3 separate regions of the Homo sapiens genome follow, and all the other regions are linked to region 1. Evidence: promoter capture Hi-C in human tissues and cell types (Jung and others, 2019). All regions are on one chromosome and are shown on one strand. The core of a region is centred on a gene start or on the middle of the fragment in contact, and the rest is flanking DNA. Distances in the headings are between cores, read along the strand shown.

Region 1 (3,562 bases), core at 628-3,127:
GGACGGCCGCGGCTCCGGGGACCGGTGCAGCTGCAGTGGCGCCCGGGGGAGGGGGCCGGCGGGGGAGGGGGCCCTCCCGGGCTGGTGCAGTTGCCCGGAGGCCCCGGGGGCTCGCGCGTCGCGGCATCGGGGAAGCGGTAGCAACCACTCTCCTCCCGCTGGCTGCTTCTTACGACTTTTCTTTTGTTGTTGCCGTGACCCGGGTCTGTTTTCTCCTCTGTTGTTTAAGGTGTTTTCCTGCTGCACCGGCTCTGCGCCCTCCACCTCCTTCCCTGTGGTTTTAACCTTCCTCTTTCCCCGTGTGTTTTATGCACGGCGAACTACGTAAAGATTTGCATTGCTTCCCCACTCGGCACCCCCGCCCCCACCTCTCTGAAAAACAAAACCCCAACCTCACAAAACCTCTATGGATCCGCGGTAGCGAGACGTGAAGGGGTTGATTTGTGGAGTGGGAGTTGCTGGCCCATTGCGGTGCCCGGGACTCATTAAACTGTCACTCACCCCCCACCCCACTGGGTAAATGGGGTGATTAATGTCTGATATATTGGAATGGGTCGAGGGCATTTGTGGAGAATAGGTGGTGTGGCTGGGAAGAAATTGATCTCCCGAGGATGTCTCCTGGACTAAGTGTTCATAATTATGTCACTCACCGCGAAGTTGGAGAAAGTTAGGTTTGTGACTTTGGGAAAGCGAGAAGGACAGGACGGAGTCGTCGGGTTTTGTTACTCTTTAACTCTCCGCCACGGCTTTCTAATGGGAACGAAGTGGTTATCACCAGGGCTGGGACGCTGGCGCCTCAGGCCCCAGTTCCTTTTCTACCCCTCGCCCTCCCAAGAGTCTGAGGAGATGTATTTGACATTCAGAGATGTCGCAGCACCCTGCCCGGTACCGGTCAGCCCAGCCCGGGTCGCGTTACAGTTTCATCAGCTATTAGAAAAGACCCACAAACTGGCTGAAAAGTTCTCAAACTTACTAGACCTGGCTTCCCCCCACACAAAGATTTTCTTGTGATCATAAACATTAGAGTGACCCCCCCCCAAAGAAAAAAAAGATTGTTAAGGGACACAGATCAAGGGGAAGGCAAGGTTCTGCTTTTTCTGAGCAGAAAGATCAGATATGCAGGTGCAGCATTCATTTTAAGTGACTGGAGCAGGTTGTATCAGTTTATTAATTGGTCTCGTTGAACTGAAGTACTTTCCAGGATTTCAGAAAGTGCAGTTTCAGCTTGTTGGTACCGAGAATTGAAATTTGCATTGACTGTGGCAGTGTAAGAAATTTTTCTGAGAAGGTAGTTGTAGATAAGTAATTACATAAGAGTGAAATAATAAGGTGAACCAGTCTGAAGTAATAGTTCTGAACAAGTCTGCCAACATTTGAGACATGTATACCATTATCTCAGCAGAAAAAAATAAAAAAGTGCGGTAATAATGTTGAAATGGGACTGGAGATGTCAAATGGGTTGGTTTAAAAATATCCCTAAACTGCTTTAGAAACTAAACGTTGGAGTTGAATAAAAGTGAATCTGGATTTCCTGAATAGCACCGTGGCTTGAGTGTGCTGTCAGTATGTAAGCCAGTCCACCAACTTAAGACAGAAGTGTTGCTATTCCATAAATACAGTAGAACTCCATATGCTGAGTTTTTCAATTTCTTCTGTTAGAAAGTTTGGAAAAAAAGGAAGACTTTGAAGTATTTTGTTTATACTAACAGAAGAGAAAAGTTCTCCTAAGAAAAAGCTGGTGGCAGGAGTGTAGAGGAGTAGCATATGGCATTAAAAGGAGCACAGCTGGAGGTAGCATTTCCATCTGAACATGATGTCAGAGCAGCTGACAGCCTGCCATCCCTCAGCCTTTTATTCTAACACACAGACAGGGAGTTAGTGTGTGCGGATCTGTGGTGGAGAAGGTATCTCATTCCTCTCTAACATCATCTCCACTTTGCATCTGTCTCTCTTAGTCTGCTTTTTTTCCACCGATGTAACAGACCTGGAGCCAGCAGGACTCAGAGGAAAGGACTTAATCAGGTTTATGTGTCCTAAAGGTAGGAGTAGCAAGAGATTAGATTGAGCATATTTCTGTTTTGGTGTTTTGTTTATTTAATTTTAAAAATCACATTACTTTTCTAACCCAGTTTAGGAATAATATATGAAATTGAGTATTAAATGAACATCTTACTGGAGTTGAAAGTCTTGAGCTTGTTTAGTTTTAATTTTTTATCCCTTTTACTTGAGCGAGTAAATAACTTTAATACACAAATATTTCAAGTTTTGAAATGTTAAGAAAGGCTTTAAAATGCTGCTTTTGGAAATCACGTTGGATTAAAATGCTTTTTTGTTGTTCACTGCTATTTAGATTTGATTGGGGTGGTGGTGGTGGGGAAATAGTAAACTGGAATCCAGCATTCAAACTTATATGAGAAGATTATTCTAGTTAAGCAGCTAGATTGTTGTATAATTAATTCCTCTGTGAAACTTTATTCTTCAAAACATTGAGCAGCACTACTGAAACATACAGCTGTAGTGCTGTTGAAACTGCAGGTTTTTAAGAAGAAGAAAAAAAAACCAAACTTTTGTCCCCAGGAGAATAGTTTGACTGGTTTCCTCATTTCTCTTTCAAATATATATTTAAGAGATCTTTTATTTCAGCATAACAATAATTATTTGCAGGAGTTTTTGTGTTAGCGACTAATTTAGAACTTGTAGATTTGAGCTGCCTGAATTGGCCAGACAGCTGTAATCGCACTCCTCTATTCTTAATCTCTTTATCTGGGCAGCAGCTGCCATATGGCCACAGTCAGCTGGATCAGATGTTTATAAGCTTCCTTCTTCGTCCCTCTCTGTCCTCTCAGCCTCCTAATTTGATCACGGCTACCTTGTGAGCTGCCCTCCAATCTTTATTTTTAGCCTTCTCAAGGATTAGGATTGATGTTAGCTGTGGGGCACTTAAAGTGATTGTATTGTAAATCTTAGTTTATTCTAGCAGTGGCATCTTGCAGAATGTGTCTGGGGTTAGGATAAAGTTTTAGTCTGTCTTGGGCAAAGTGTAGAAGAACAAGAAGAAAGGAAGTAATTTCTGAATATTAAATTAAGTGTATCTATTCCCAAAATGCACTTGCTGAGATGGGTGGTGTGGAGGCTTGCTTCTGGTCACAGGAAAGGGGAAGTCGGGTCTTCTTTATTTTTCAGGAGTTTACCCACTGCAGTTGAATTCTGACCCTTTGTACATCTTTGCCTTTCTCCTCCCTCCATTTCACTTTCCCTCATCACAAAACAAGGGCAATGATGAATATTTGCAAGAATAGAAGCTAGTGGGAAAACAGAAATATATCAAATTATATTGAAACAAAGTATTTTCTGTTGGCTGAGGTAAGGCAGAACCAGGAAAAAAAAAAAGGTTCTCTTTTTCTAAAAAGGCTTAAAAAAAAACGTTGAACCTGTAAAGCTTTTGAGTTTTATTTAAGCGCTGTATGCCTTTATTTTTAAAAGTTTGAATTAATTTCAATATGAAACTCATTTTGCCTTGCAACGGATCAAAGTTTAGATGAGAATTTTCGGAGTTCAGTAA
Region 2 (3,957 bases), core at 931-3,430, 520 kb before region 1:
TATCTTTTGAGATGAGGCCTCGTTCTGTCACCCAAGCTTGGAGAGCAGTAGTGTGATCACAGCTCATTGCAGCCTTGATCTCCTGGGCTCAAATGATCCTCCCACCTCAGCCTCCTGAGTAGCTGAGACTACAGTCGTGCACCACCATGCCCGGCTAATTTTTTGTTATTTTTGGTAAAGGTGGGGTTTTGCCATTGGTCTTGAACTCCTGGGCTCAAGGAATCCTCCTACCTTGGCCTCCCAAAATGCTGGGATCACAGGAATGAGTCACTGCACCTGGAAATGTTCAACCATTTTAACCTGTGAGAATGGCAATCACCTATGATTCAAGCAAATATTGTCCTGAAGTTACTTCATATCATTTGCATGCAAGTTTTTATAGTTTTCTCCCATATATATATTTTGTCATAAATACAATGCTTTTTATGGTGCATTTTCAGTTTTTGTAGTACGGTATTCTGTAAATATCCTCAGTATTTTGTTTTTCTGTGTTTGTTTTTTGAGATTTATCAATATTGATACTTATAAATTTGAGTTGTTTTTTATTCTTGAATAGTATTCTACCATAAGATTAAGAAAAAACTGCACTGAATCTGTATTATCATTTTGAGTACTCTCATCTTAAATTAAATATCCAATATATAAACATGAGATGTCTTTCCATTCATTTATGTCTTCTTTTATTTCTTTCAGCAATGTTTTGTAGTCGGTAGTGTATAAGTCTTGTGCTTCCTTGGTTAAATTTATTCCTAAGACATTTTTTGATGCTATTTTAAATGAAATTGATCTTCTTAAGATCAATTTTACATTGTTGATAGCTAGTATATGGAAATACAATGTATTTTCTAGCTTGCTTTTGCATCCTGCAACTTTACTGAATGTATTAGTTCTAAGCACAAGTGTGGCACGTGTGTGTGTATGTTTTAGGGTTTTCTACATATAAGATCATGTCACCTATTAGTAGGGGTAGTTTTATTTCTTCCTTGCAAATTTGATTGCTTTTTATTTCTCTTATTTAACTCCTCTGGCTACAGCTTCCAGTGTCACGTTAACAGAAATGTTGAAAGTGGTATCTTTGTTTTCTTCCTTATCTCAGGGGAAAAACTTTCAGTCTTTCACCATTGAATATAATGTGAGCTGAGGGTTTTCCAAACTATAGAAATGATCCCTTAAAGGACAGTCTTTCCAAGAATTTTTCATATATGACCTTTATAATGTTGTGGCAGTTTCCTTCTATTCCTAGCTTTTTTTTCTTTTTACTGTTTTTATCATAAAGGAGTGAATTTTGTCAAATGCTGCCCATCAGTTGAAATGATCATGCAAGTTTTCTCCTTCATTCTATTAATGTGGGACATTACACTGATTAATTTCTATACGTTGAACATCCTTGCATTCCTGGAATAAATCTACTTGGTTAAGGTGTACAATCCTTTAATTATACTGCTGAATGGTTTGCTAGTATTGTTAAGAAATTTTGCATCTGTATTCATTAGGGACATTGGTCTGTAGTTTTCTTTTCTTATAATGCCTCTAGTTTTGACATCAGGATAATGCTCCCTTCATAGAGCAAGTGAGAGAGTGTTCACTCCTCTTCAAATTTTTGGAAGAGTTTGAGAAGGACTGGCATTAATTTTTCTTTAAGTGTTGGGTAGACTTCCCCAGTAAAGCCAACTGGCCCTGGGCTTTTCTTTGGTGGGAGGTTTGCGATTAGTGATTTTATTTCTTTAAGAGTTACGGGGTCTATTTGGATTTTCAATTTATTCTTAAGTCATTTTGGTGATTTGTGTATTTCCAGGAATGTGTCCATTTCATCTAGGTTACTCAACTTGGTGGCATACACTTCTTCAGAGTATCATCTTATAACCCTTTCTATTTCTCTCAAGTCAGGAGTAATATCTTTTTTCATTTCTGATTCAGTATTTCATTTTTCTCTTTTTCCTCCTTAGTCAATCCATTTAAAGTTTTGTCAGTTTTGCTGATTTTTCAAATAACCAACTTTCGGTTTCGGTCATTATTCTCTATTGCTTTTCAATTATCGATTTCATTTATTTCCGTTGTAATCTTTACACCAATAAATTGGTTAACCAAAATAATGAAGAGGTAAAACTACCAAAAAGATATAACAATACTACAATTTGGGTGCATCTACACATGGAACTAAAAAAATGTCAAAACTGATAGAACTATAAACAGAAATAGTCAACGCCATAATTATAGTTGAAGGTTTCACTTCTCTCTTAGTAACTGATAAAAGCAAGCCATTAAGCTATCAGTAAAGATGCAGAAGACTTAACACTATTAGCCAATTCTATCACTGACATTTATAGAATATTCTACACAAGAGCAAAGTACCTATGGCAATTGTACTATCTGTGAAATGAATGGTGCTATTTAAAAGAGGACTTGAATTAGTTATAAGTGTATACTTCAAACTCAAGGGCTGGCAGTTAAAAAAAGTTAAAAAAGCATAATTTATTCAATTAATATGTTATGAGAGGGAAAAATGTTGCCTTATACAATGCTCAATTAAACCAGAGAAGGCAGAATAAAAATGGGATACACACACACACAAAGAAACAGCAAGGGCAATGGATAAAAAACTGTAAGAAGGCCGGGCGCGGTGGCTCACGCCTGTAATCCCAGCACTTTGGGAGGCTGAGGTGGGCGGATCACGAGGTCAGGAGATCGAGACCATCCTGGCTAATATGGTGAAACCCCATCTCTACTAAAAATACAAAAAATTAGCCGGGCGTGGTGGTGGGCGCCTGTAGTCCCAGCTACTCGGGAGGCTGAGGCAGGAGAATAGTGTGAAGCCGGGAGGCGGAGCTTGCAGTGAGCCCAGATTGTGCCACTGCACTCCAGCCTGGGCAACAGAGCGAGACTCCGTTTCCAAAAACAAAAAGAAAAACAAAAAAACCTGTAAGAAATCCAACTGTATCAATTATCATTTTTAATGTCAGTGGTCTAAAGACATCAGCTAAAAGACAGAGACAGTCAGAGTAGATAAAAAAAACAAGATCTAACTATATGGTCTACAAGAAACCCACTTTAAATATAAAGACACTGATAGATTAAAAGTAAAGGGATGGAAAAAAGATAGGCATGCTCATAGTAATTTAAAGAAAGTGGGAGGAGCTATATTAATTTAAGACAAAGTAGGGCAAGGAAAACTATCAGAGATAAAGAGGGGCATTACATAATGATACCTGGGCCAATTCTCCAAGAAAACATAACAGTCCTTAATGTGTATGTGTCTAGCAACAGAATCAAAATACGTGAGGCAAAAACTGATAGAACTGGAAGGAGAAACAGATGACTCTACTATTATAGTTGGACACATCAACATGTCCCCCCAGTCAGTTAAGGACATAACTGAACTAAACAGCACCATCAATCAACTGGATTTAATATCAACATTATGGAATATTTTATCCAAGAAAAGCAGAATATGTAACTCTTCTCTTCTCACACAGAACATTCATCATGACAGACCATGTTCTGGGCCATAAAATGCACCTTTAACAAATTTTTAAAAATCATATAAAAGTATGCTCTCAGACCACAATGAAATTAAACTGGAAATCAGTAACAGAAAGATAGCTGGAAAGCTCCAAAATACCTGTAGACTAAACAACACATTTCTAAACAACACACATATTAAATAATTCAATAAAACTTAAAACTATTTGTAACTAAATGAAAATAAAACATCAAAATTTGTGAGATACAGTTAAAATAATGCTTAGAGGAAAATTTATAGCATTGAGTGCACAAATTAGAAAAGATCGAAAACAAATAATCTAAGCTTTCAGGTTACAAAACTAGAAAAAGAGAAAATTAAATCCAAAGTAAGGAGAAGAAAAGATATAATTAAAATTAGAGCGGAAATCAATGAAACAGAGAACAGAAAATCAATGGAGAAAAACTAACAAAAGCAAAAGCCAGATCTTTGTAAAT
Region 3 (3,983 bases), core at 834-3,333, 570 kb before region 1:
TGGCAACTGAACAGGACCTCCATGCGTCTGATAGTTCCATGTCTTCCGTTAAGACTATTGGTAATTCAGTTGCAAATAGCATTCAACAAAATAAAACTGGCTTGTAATCACTCTGGGTTAAAGAAGTCTAAATAGAGACATGCCAACTAAGTATGAAGGATCTTTTCTGGAGTGGGAAGAAAGGAACATTATTGGGCCAGTCAACAAGATTAGAATCCAATTCAGTAGGTTAGATGAAGCTATTAGATCAATATGAAATTGACTGTAGTTGGTAATATACTGTGGTTCTGTAAGAGAATGCCTTTATCCTTAGGAAATACACACTGTAGCATATAAGATAAAAGGGCAATGGTGCATGCAGCTTACTGTCAACTGGTTCTGTACACACACACACACACACACACACACACACACACAGAGAGAAAGGCAGGAGAGCGTAATCAATCAGATGGGGCAAAATTATTACAGTAGGTGAATTTGAATAAAGGGTATGTTGGTATTCTCTGTAATATTCTTGCAACTTTTTATAAGTTTGACATTATTTCCAAATAAACCCATTTTTAAGGACGGCTTTAGGGTGAGGTAGGGTACAGTGTGCGTGGCAGTGTGGGTTTTCCTGCTGGTGCTTCTGTATGGCCTTGAGCCACATGCAGCATAGATACTACTCTGCAAAGATTCTGATTTTCAACAATTTCCATTCCTCTGTCCCATTTCCTTTGCACAGTGGGGCTATCCTCACCATTAGTCTGTTCTTGCTTGAGACAAAGCTGATTAAGGTAACTCTTACTTCAGGCAGATGGTCTTCTAGGTTCTTCAAAGTCTAAGATTCATAACGTGTCAACTCCTGTTTCATGGTGTCAGGATCCTTTATTCATGCCCAGTCTTCCAAAGGTATTACAAACTCAGCCTTGGTTCGATAGCACTTGTATTTTAAGAAGGTTACAAGGTAGTGATTCAACAGATCTAATTGCCCTAAGATGAAGCTGTGCCTCCTTTTTGGTAGAAGCACTGTTTGAAGAAGTTGGTCTTTGAAGAGCCTCGGTGATATTGTCAGAGGCTTTAGGTTCCTGTCAGAGGCAGCTGTGCTGGAGCTTGAAGAGCTGAAAGTGTCCCCTTGGCCATGGGCCCATTCACTGGGGGCCAGTGTGGCACTGTGGGCTTCCCAACATGGTCTTCCAAGCTTCTGGCCTCTTTTGCATCCTTTGTGCCAACACCAGTCTGTGGATGAGATCAATGTGGCTCAGAGTGTGGTTTCCAGAGTACGGTCCTCAAACTGTTACTGGTCTGGGATGAGGCAAGAACTGAAATTGAGTCAGAAATTTTCAAAACAATCAAACACTGCTTCCTCCTTTTTATTGTACTCCACAAAACCATTAGTCTACAATAGATTGGAAATTTTAAAAGAATTAAAATCAAGTCTGGTTCTCCTCACTGAGCTCATTGGGGAATCCCTGGCCTAGGGATTTCCCTCTTCTCCCGCCCCCAGGCCTCGGAAAATGAACTGGTGTCAGCTGCTGCCCAGAAGGTTACCCAGCGTGTTCTCTCTCTCAGGGTCCTTCCCTTAAATTCTCAAGTTTGACATGGAATAGAAGAATGTCGGGCGTTTCAAAAAAGGATTTTGAGATGCTGCAAAGCTCACTGGATTTAGAGTCAAGAGATGTGGGCTCTAGCGCCAGATTTACTACAGACAGGCTGCCTGACCTTGGGCAAGTCACTTATACTTTCTTGGCTTCACCATAATGGGCTGAACTGAATGTTCTCTAAGGTGCCTCTCAGCCCTAACATAATATGATTCTTTTCATGAGAAGAGCAGGACTTGATCCCCCCATCACTTGGGGGCATCCCCAAGGAGCCCCCTGTTCTTCCTCTGCAGGCAGCCAAGGCTAATTAGGAATCTGAGAGAATGAGCCAGGAAAGGGGCAGTACAGGACATACATTCTCTTCATTGAAGGTGGTACCCCCTCCCCACTGCACGATCCTCAGGAAGAATTCCTTTATTGAAACCATTATTGAATAGGGTAGATTTAGGCACGGGAAATGTAAACAGCAAACCAGCCACTAAAAGTGCGTTAATGTCACGCCTGTAATCCCAGCACTTTGGGAAGCTGAGGTGGGCGGATCATGAGATCAAGAGATCGAGACCATCCTGGCCAACGTGGTTAAACCCCAACTCCACTGAAAATAAAAAAAATTAGCTGAGCGTGGTGGTGTGTGCCTGTAGTCCCAGCTACTCGGGAGGCTGAGGCAGGAGAATCATTTGAACCCGGGAGGCGGAGGTTGCAGTGGGCCGAGGTTGTGCCACTGCACTCCAGCCTGGCCACAGAGTGAGACTCTGTCTCAAAAAAAAAAAAAAAAAAAAAGAAAGTGCCTTAATGTTCTGAGCAAGGATAATGGGCTAGAGCGTGTTCCGGAAGCCTCAGCACACTGCTTGTTCTCACTGATAGGACCTCGTTCACGAGATGGAATTATGTAAAATGCCGCAGCAATGGTTAAGTGTTGGAACAAAGTAATACAGCTTTACATTAACATGGTTTATTCACTAGAATTAATGACCTAGAGCAGTAATTGCATTTTCAAAACTTCAGCTTGCTGACTAGGTGTATTGCTATGTAAATAGCTAGCGATATTTGAAGATAGGAACACAGTAAAATCTGTAAAGTAATAGGATTGTAGAAATATGGAGCTGGAGGAGAATGTAGTCATCTTCTAGCCCCGAGGCTGGCAAACTTTAAAAGGTCAGGTAATAAATATTGTAGGCTCCATGGCCATATGTTCTCTGTCGCAGCTACTCGGCCGTTATGGTGCAAAAGCAGCCATAGACAAAACGTGAATGAATGGGCATGGCTGGGTTTCAATGAAAGTTTATTTAGGGGCGCTGCAAGTTGAATTTCATGCAGTGTTCACATATTATACTCCTTTTGATTTTTAAAAATCATTTTAAAATGTAAAAATCACTCTCAATTGGCAGATCATACAGAAACAGGCAGTGGCCTGTAGTCTGAAGTTTGCCGACCTCACTTCTAGTTTTCTCCTCTCATTTCACATGTGAGGAAACTGAGATTCAAAGTGATCACAGGATTTACTTAAGTTCTCATGACTGACGCCAGAGTATTTTAGGAGCAGACTAGGAGAGTTTTCATGTAGACAGTTGGTTGTTTTGATGATGAAAATTGAAGCCACACAAAAATTATTCTCCAGAAGAACTCATTTCGTATGTGTGATTAATACTGTGAATTAGAATGTACCAGTGGTTCTCATGCTTAAGAATTCATCAGAGTCATCCAGGGGCCTTATTAAAACACATGCTGCTGGGCCCCACCCTCAGAGTTGATGGTTCAGGTCTGGAGATCTTATTTTCTCCATTTTACAAATGGAGAACCTGAGGTTGAGAGAGATACTCAGTCTCAGGCTTAAGGTAAAATAGCTAGCTTGTGATGTCCCCCATTTCCAAGTTCAGCACTCATAGGATTAGGATTAGAGCTATAAGTAATCATCAAGCAGAGAGGCAGGGCTGCAGTTTTGTTTAGAGAGATCCTTCTAGTCTAGCTGTTGCGGGGAGTATGGATTCCAGGGGGCCGTGTGGAAGCACACAACTCTATGAGAAGGCTGTGCAGGAACCTGGATGTGAAGTGCTGGCAGCTGGACTTCAAGAGTGAAGGTCATGGAATGGATGGGTGGATGGATGAGTGGGATGGATGGATGGGTGGGATGGATGGATGGATAGGTGGGATGGATGGGTGGGTGGGATGGATGGATGGGTGGATGGATGGATGGATAGGTGGGATGGATGGGTGGGTGGGATGGGTGGATGGGTGGATGGGTGGGATGGATGAATGGGGGATGGATGGATGGATGGATGGATGGATGGATGGGTGGGATGGATGGATGGATAGGTGGGATGGGTGGGATGGATGGATGGATGGGTGGATGGATGGATGGATAGGTGGGATGGATGGGTGGGTGGGATGGATGGGTGGATGGGT

Evidence for each region. The method cuts DNA at HindIII sites, captures the fragments that hold promoters and counts their contacts. A contact is called where the count stands out against the background at its distance.
Region 2: a fragment that was not itself captured here is called in contact with the fragment with the promoter of ZBTB18 in region 1 in 1 of the 25 tissues and cell types used here (dorsolateral prefrontal cortex).
Region 3: a contact is called between a fragment that was not itself captured here and the fragment with the promoter of ZBTB18 in region 1, in 2 of the 25 tissues and cell types used here (dorsolateral prefrontal cortex and hippocampus).

What each region holds. Positions count from the first base shown.
Region 1 is chr1:244,049,406-244,052,967 of GRCh38, forward strand. ZBTB18 (zinc finger and BTB domain containing 18) reads left to right here and starts at 1,878. Exons shown (of 2, transcript NM_205768.3): 1 at 1,878-2,039. The coding sequence starts at 2,027. RefSeq lists enhancers at 887-936, 2,653-3,154 and a silencer at 1,117-1,206. The HindIII fragment of the contact is 6,539 bases long and covers 1-3,127 here.
Region 2 is chr1:243,531,100-243,535,056 of GRCh38, forward strand. The region is part of intron 12 of AKT3 (AKT serine/threonine kinase 3); the gene reads right to left. Among named protein-coding and RNA genes, the nearest start is that of MIR4677, 190 kb to the left of the region's middle. The HindIII fragment of the contact is 4,559 bases long and covers 1-3,957 here.
Region 3 is chr1:243,476,618-243,480,600 of GRCh38, forward strand. The region is part of intron 16 of SDCCAG8 (SHH signaling and ciliogenesis regulator SDCCAG8); the gene reads left to right. Among named protein-coding and RNA genes, the nearest start is that of MIR4677, 130 kb to the left of the region's middle. The HindIII fragment of the contact is 9,134 bases long and covers 1-3,983 here.